2 separate regions of the Homo sapiens genome follow, and region 2 is linked to region 1. The links are contacts of gene promoters, found by promoter capture Hi-C in blood cells and fetal thymus (Javierre and others, 2016). All regions are on one chromosome and are shown on one strand. The core of a region is centred on a gene start or on the middle of the fragment in contact, and the rest is flanking DNA. Distances in the headings are between cores, read along the strand shown. Region 1 holds the start of IFNAR1 (interferon alpha and beta receptor subunit 1). Region 2 overlaps PAXBP1-AS1 (PAXBP1 antisense RNA 1).

Region 1 (3,160 bases), core at 487-2,986:
CAAACGAATGGCTGTTACTAGCATTATGCTTCAGCCAAATCCCCAAGGAAGGATAAAAAGACTCAGCCATCTGCGAAGGGCTACCCTGACAGATCATTCATAAGTCAATTCTTTGCTGGTCTCCCATAAACAAGGGGATGCCAACTGTAACTTCAGGTCTACAACCTAAGTCTAGTTCCTAAAACTAAAGTCTAAAACATAAATAGATCGGGCGTGGTGGCTCACACCTGTAATCCCAGCACTTTGGGAGGCTGAAGTGGATTGTTTGAGGTCAGGAGTTCGAGACCAGCCTGGCCAACATGGCAAAACCCCATCTCTACTAGAAATACAAAAAATAGCCGGATGTGGTGGCGTGCACCTGTAATTCCAGCTACTCAAGAGGCTGAGGCAGGAGAATCGCCTGAACCTGGGAGGCAGAGGTTGCAGTGAGCTGAGATCACGCCTCTGCACACCAGCCTGGGCAACAGGCTGTCTCAAAAAAAAAAAAAAAAAAGTATAAATAAAAATGTCTTCCCATATTTTGGACAGTTTTCTTAGTCTTGGGTCCTAGAATTGCATTTACTAGTTTAAAAAGTATGACTATTTTTATGACTTCTGAAAGACTGAGCAACATTACAATCTCATTGAGATAACATTTCATTGAGTTTTGAACATGATTATTTCTTTGGGAAAAAAGTAGGTAGTTAAGTAAACCAAAAATAAAATTCTAAGCCCCCCAACAATGTGAATGGACCTCTCCTCTCAACAAATGGCATTCCAAAGTTAATCTGAAAAACTAGTTCAGGCCTTCCACACTGACCATGTCAATTACAAGCTTATCTTCTCAGGTGCAAAACAAAGTCAAGACTCCATCTACCCAGAGGCATCTGCATAACTGACTCCCTTTACTCTCTTTTTCTCTTCAAGACACTCATGGTATCTTAAAATACAGATTTCTTGGGCACTAACTAAATTCTCACAGAACTATTTGCCTTACTGCCTTCCTGCCCCACCTCCTGAAAACCTCTGGAAAACCAGTCACAGACGTGTTTGTGGCTCACGTTTTTCCCGGATGCGCCCTGAAGCAGGCTTAGTAAACCTCGAGAACTGACAATTATGCTTCAGTCACTCCGACTGTCATTTTTTATTGGCCTGTATGAATCCTGAGGGCAGAGAAATCCTGGCCACACTTAGCTCACTCCCCCGTGGGACTGGGCGCCTATTCACCAGATTGAGGAAATGCATTTCGGGAAATGTTTTGTTTATTATCAAACAGACCAGCGGAGCCGCGGTACTTTCCCGGAAAGAATCAAACTCGACACAAAGCTCTGGCACCGCCATTTCACGGGGGTGGGACCCGGGCGCTCCCGAGGACCCGTACACGGCCACAGGCAAGCGGCAAGAGAGGACCCAGAACACCACTTTCTCCTGGTTGATTTGCGAGCCCAGGTCGGGTTTAATCTTTGGCGCGGCAAAGTGGACCGAAGGTTTCCCAGACTGGGCGTCTGTCGCCCCCAACAGCATCGCCGCCCCCGTAGCCCAGCTGCGTGCCCTACCTCCCGCCCTGCGCCAAGACTCTCCTCCCCGCCTCTCACCTGCGGCTGCGGACAACACCCATGGCGCCACGGCGACGAGCACTAGGGTCGTCGCGCCCAGGAGGACGACCATCATCTGGGAGCCGCCGCAGATCCCACCAGTTACATGTTCGCGCACGCGCAGCTCCTCTCAGCCGCCATCGCCCCGTCCTAAGTCACACCGCCCCTCTGCACACGCGCTGCCCCTCTTAGCTCTCACCGCCCCTCTACGCACGCGCCGCCTCTTCTGACACACACACCGCCCCTCCGCGCACGCGCCGTTCCTCCACGCACGCGCCTTTCCTCCTAGCTAGCACCCCTTCTCCAAGCTCCCATTGCCCCATCCTAATTGCAGCACCCCTGTGCGCGCGCGCCTTAGAAATCGCAGGCCTCCTGCATTCTCTTCTTCCTCACTCTTTCCGGCCTATGGCCGGTCTGGAGCACTTCACCATCGCATTCCAGGACGACTCCCCCTCACAGGAGGCCTTGACCTTCACAGGATCGCGGCACACACCTGCGCAGACCCAGCGACTTTGGAGTTCCCGCGTCTCTTCCCCATGTCTGCAGTCGGAGGGCGCGGGTGGGCTCCTGGTCGCGGCCCGGCGCTCTTCGTCCTCGCCCTTCTCCGCCCGGGGCGCTTGCTGACCCTAGAGTCTTGGACAGTGGCGTTGGGAGTCCCCAGCGGCCTGGGAACCAGATGAGGCTGGAAGGAGGAAGTGGCTGAGCGACCAGACCGTTGCTGTGTGCAGAGCGAGAGCGGGGCAGAGGCGGTCGAGCGCTCGTTTTCCGGGCGACTTGGCTGAGGGGCGAGATGGTCCCTTGGAGAGAACAGCCACGGGCCCTGGGCCGAGGGGCTCCAAACAGCAGTCGCTAGGCTGTTTTGGTCGTCGGGCTTTATCAGTAAACAATTCGAGCCCATGGTTCGAATGATTATTTAATTAAATTCCTCAGTAATAGATCCAGTGCATTGTGAAAATATGCGAAATAAAATTTAAATGATGAGATAAAATAAGGAATCAAATACTTCGTTGTTATAACAACCAAGCAATTAATTAGCAATTACATAATTAAATGAATGTTTGTAAAGAACAATGCAATGGAATATATATGTATTCCATCTATATATTCCATCTCTATATTCCATCTATATATTCCATCTCTATATCCCATCACTATATTCCATCTCTATATCCCATCTCTATATTCCATCTCTATATCCCATCTCTATATTCCATCTCTATATCCCATCTCTATATCCCATCTCTATATTCCATCTCTATATTCCATATCTATTCCATCTCTATATTCCATATCTATTCCATCTCTATATTCCATATCTATTCCATCTCTATATCCCATCTCTATATTCCATCACTATATCCCATCTCTATATCCCATCTCTATATCCCATCTCTATATCCCATCTCTATATCCCATCTCTATATCCCATCTCTATATTCCATCTCTATATTCCATCTCTATTCCATCTCTATATTCCATATCTATTCCATCTCTATATTCCATATCTATTCCATCTCTATATTCCATCTCTATATTCCATCTCTATATGCCATCTCTATATGCCATATATATTCCATCTCTATATG
Region 2 (3,173 bases), core at 519-3,018, 600 kb after region 1:
TTGCTGTTGCTTTGGGACCGAGAGCCAACTTGAACAACTTGAATACAGCTCTAATCTTGAAGGTTGAGCCCTGTTTCTGGCTCCGGCACTTTGATTTCCACAAGAATCTTTGTGTTTCATTAAAATAAACCCCCTTCACTTGATCTCTCTTCAGTTGGTCTCTTGTTCCAAATGAAAATACTTCATTTTTATCTATCACAAGTTTCCTGTTTTCTCTAGTGGCAATTTCCTGTCTATGATACCTGCAAGTTATTTTTCAATCTGTTTTTTTTCCACAGTGATTCTGCTCTCAAGCTTACTAGTTTTTTATTCATAGGATTTCCATTTTTCTAATTTAAAATCTTATCCTTCACTGGTTACAATGAATTTCTTTAAAGAAAAAGCTAATGCTATTTGTAACCTACTGTTGCGTTGCCTTTCAAGACCACTGTTTTCTGTTCGAGCCATTTCTTTCTCAGTCATTGGTGGGGAACATGGCCAGGTACAACTAGGGTCTGCAGATCCTGCTATACTAGGACCAGGATCTGCAGAGCACTATACTAATAACTCTGCAGATCCTGATCCTGATATAAAAGTTAGCTTAGCCTGTGTAACCTGAAAAGAAGCTGTTAAAGGTTACTGAATCAGACTGTTAATATTTCCCTGATCTTCCATGTTGTCTAGCATTTTTGACAAAAAAACAAAAAACAAAAAACGAGCACTACTACTATATTGCCACTATGTGATTTTTTTTTAACCTATGAAAATAACAATTCCATGTTTCAACATAATGAATTGCATATTTCAACTAGAGTTGCCCATAGGAGAAATAACTTGCTCACAAATCAACATCTAGAATTTAGGGTGTTTGTCTTTAATTTGTTCTATTGGATGTGATATCTGAAACACCTACCTGGGGCTGTCTCTCTCCTGATGGAAAGTCACATCAGCCTTGTGTTAATTTCTTGTAGCTGGTGTTACAAATTACCATGAACTGGGTGGTTTAAAACAACAAAAATGTATTTTCTTGCAGTTCTGGAGGCCAGAACCAACAGGGCCATGCTCCTTCCAAAGGCTCTAGGCTCAAATCCTTCCTTGCCTCTTCCAACTTCTGATGGCTGCTGACATAGCTTGGCTATGGCCACATCGCTCCAATCTCTGCTGCTGTCTTCACATCACTTTTTTTTCTCTCTCTCTCTCTCCTGTGTGCGTGTTTAATTTTCCTCTGCCTCCCTGTTATAAGGACACTTATGATTGCATCTAGGGCTCTAGGGCCCACCTGGATAATTGAAAATAATCTCAAGACCCTTAATCAAATCTGTAAACCTAAATTAACATTCACAGACAAGGATCTCTTTTTGAAGTAGCGTTTTTTAGCCTCCCACAGGCTCTTCATTGCACAGTTTCAAGGGTTGAGTTGGTGTCAGCCTGTCTCTGTAGGCCCTTAGGATCTCACTAAGAAGTTTGTGTATGCCACTTAACCTATATTTTAAGTCACCCTATCCCAAAGACATTTCAAGGTCAGTGAAAATTTTTCCAACTATTGTCAAATGCTGTAACAAAAGTAGAAGTATAAATAGGAAAGAGGGACAAGAAAAAGAAGATAGAACCAATCAAGCCACTAGTCAAATTGCCTTTATGTTTTTCAAACTCTGGGCATGTGTCTTTTTCATGACTAAAATGAGATGTGGAAAAGCTGTGGCCTTCTAACAAATCTAGGAATAAGTCTTGCTACCCCCCAGTTTAATTTGAAGAAAGAAGCTGGAATTCCAACCCAGAACCCAGAAATTTTGACCTAAATCTCCTCAGTCCAAAATAAAAAGGAACCAGGAATATGCAGAACACTTGTTCGTAAAAGAGCTTAGTACCCATGCTTCCCACTATAAGAAAGGAAGCATTTCTAGTGTAGCCTTACAGACACACAGGCATGGTGGAAAGGATTTTGGGCTTTGGAGTAAGCAAGTTTGGTTTCAGTACCCAACTCCTCTTGAAACTGAATGATTTCAGTTGTCATAAAAGGTACCTCTCGGCCGGGCGCGATGGCTCACGCCTGTTATCCCAGCACTTTGGGAGGCCGAGGCGGGTGGATCACGAGGTCAGGAGATCGAGACCATCCTGGCTAACACGGTGAAACCCTGTCTCTACTAAAAATACAAAAATTAGCCGGGCGTGGTGGTGGGCACCTGTAATCCCAGCTACTCGGGAGGCTGAGGCAGGAGAACGGCGTGAACCCGGGAGGCGGAGCTTGCAGTGAGCCGAGATCGCGCCACTGCACTCTAGCCTGGGCGGACAGAGCGAGACTCCGTCTCAAAAAAAAAAAGGTACTTCTCAAGCAACACATTTGATATCAACAGTTTTTTCTGAGACAGTACTGACATAGAAATCCCCTCTAGTTCTTAGAACTAAATCCAAGAATCTTTGTGTTTCTCCTTCATGACTTGAAGTGGCTTCTTTTCTAATAAATTTAGTTCCGTGTCCTGAAACCAGGGTGGGTACAGCTTCTCTAAAATGGACGAAAAAATCAAGTCACATGACAGGGCCTGAAGAGGGAAATGATTTTTGCAACATAACCAAATTTAAATCCTGCTTTGGCTGTTGAAAACCAGAAGGAGAAGAGGTAAAGAAAAAGCAAACGCAAGTGGAGACAGTTTGAGTGCTGGGTTCTTCAGGTTTTCAATTTCTTTCTGCCCTGTTGGCTTTGACTTCATTCTCTTTCTTATTAGGTCTATTCAATGGAAGCAGAAATCTATGGGACACGCTGATATTAGCCAGGAAGCACCATTTGTTGAAAAATGAGGATGAGATAAAAGGGTTAGGTGCCTTTAGTTACTAAATTCCACGGTTGGCAAAAGCTATTCATCCGTCGGTGACAACCACAGCTGTCGTGGCCTCCCTACGGCCATGTTTTGTTGGACTCAGCCTTGAGATCCTGGTTTGTGACGTCCCACTCTCCATCGTATACACCTAAGCACTCTTCGATAGAACCCTGTGAGCTCCAGAACACACAAGAAAAGGCACCGAACAGAACTGTCCCAGAGCAGGCATTAGTTTTTCTTCTGCTACCTATCCAGACACTCAGACTAGGAACTCGGTGCCGTTTGCTGGGCTGTCGACACCATGGACAGCTCTTCAGGCGCCACCTGGTTGGCTCGGCGAGCCGACCGTCCCGAGCCCTTCCTCCTCTCCCGTCAGGC

The links. The method cuts DNA at HindIII sites, captures the fragments that hold promoters and counts their contacts. A CHiCAGO score of 5 or more calls a contact.
Region 2: a contact is called between a fragment that was not itself captured here and the fragment with the promoter of IFNAR1 in region 1, in 1 of 17 cell types (fetal thymus). The highest score is 5.4, in fetal thymus.

Annotation. Positions count from the first base shown.
Region 1 is chr21:33,323,546-33,326,705 of GRCh38, reverse strand. IFNAR1 (interferon alpha and beta receptor subunit 1) reads right to left here and starts at 1,736. Exons shown (of 11, transcript NM_000629.3): 1 at 1,575-1,736. The coding sequence starts at 1,650. RefSeq lists cis regulatory regions at 1,747, 1,804-1,813, 2,304, enhancers at 908-1,809, 2,043-2,092, 2,313-2,522, 1,810-2,712 and promoters at 1,725-2,395, 1,749-3,032. The HindIII fragment of the contact is 6,325 bases long and covers 817-3,160 here.
Region 2 is chr21:32,728,381-32,731,553 of GRCh38, reverse strand. It overlaps PAXBP1-AS1 (PAXBP1 antisense RNA 1), which reads right to left. Exons shown (of 4, transcript NR_038879.1): 1 at 893-3,173. It also overlaps a transcript of SYNJ1 not described here. Among named protein-coding and RNA genes, the nearest start is that of PAXBP1-AS1, 1.9 kb to the right of the region's middle. The HindIII fragment of the contact is 2,944 bases long and covers 297-3,173 here.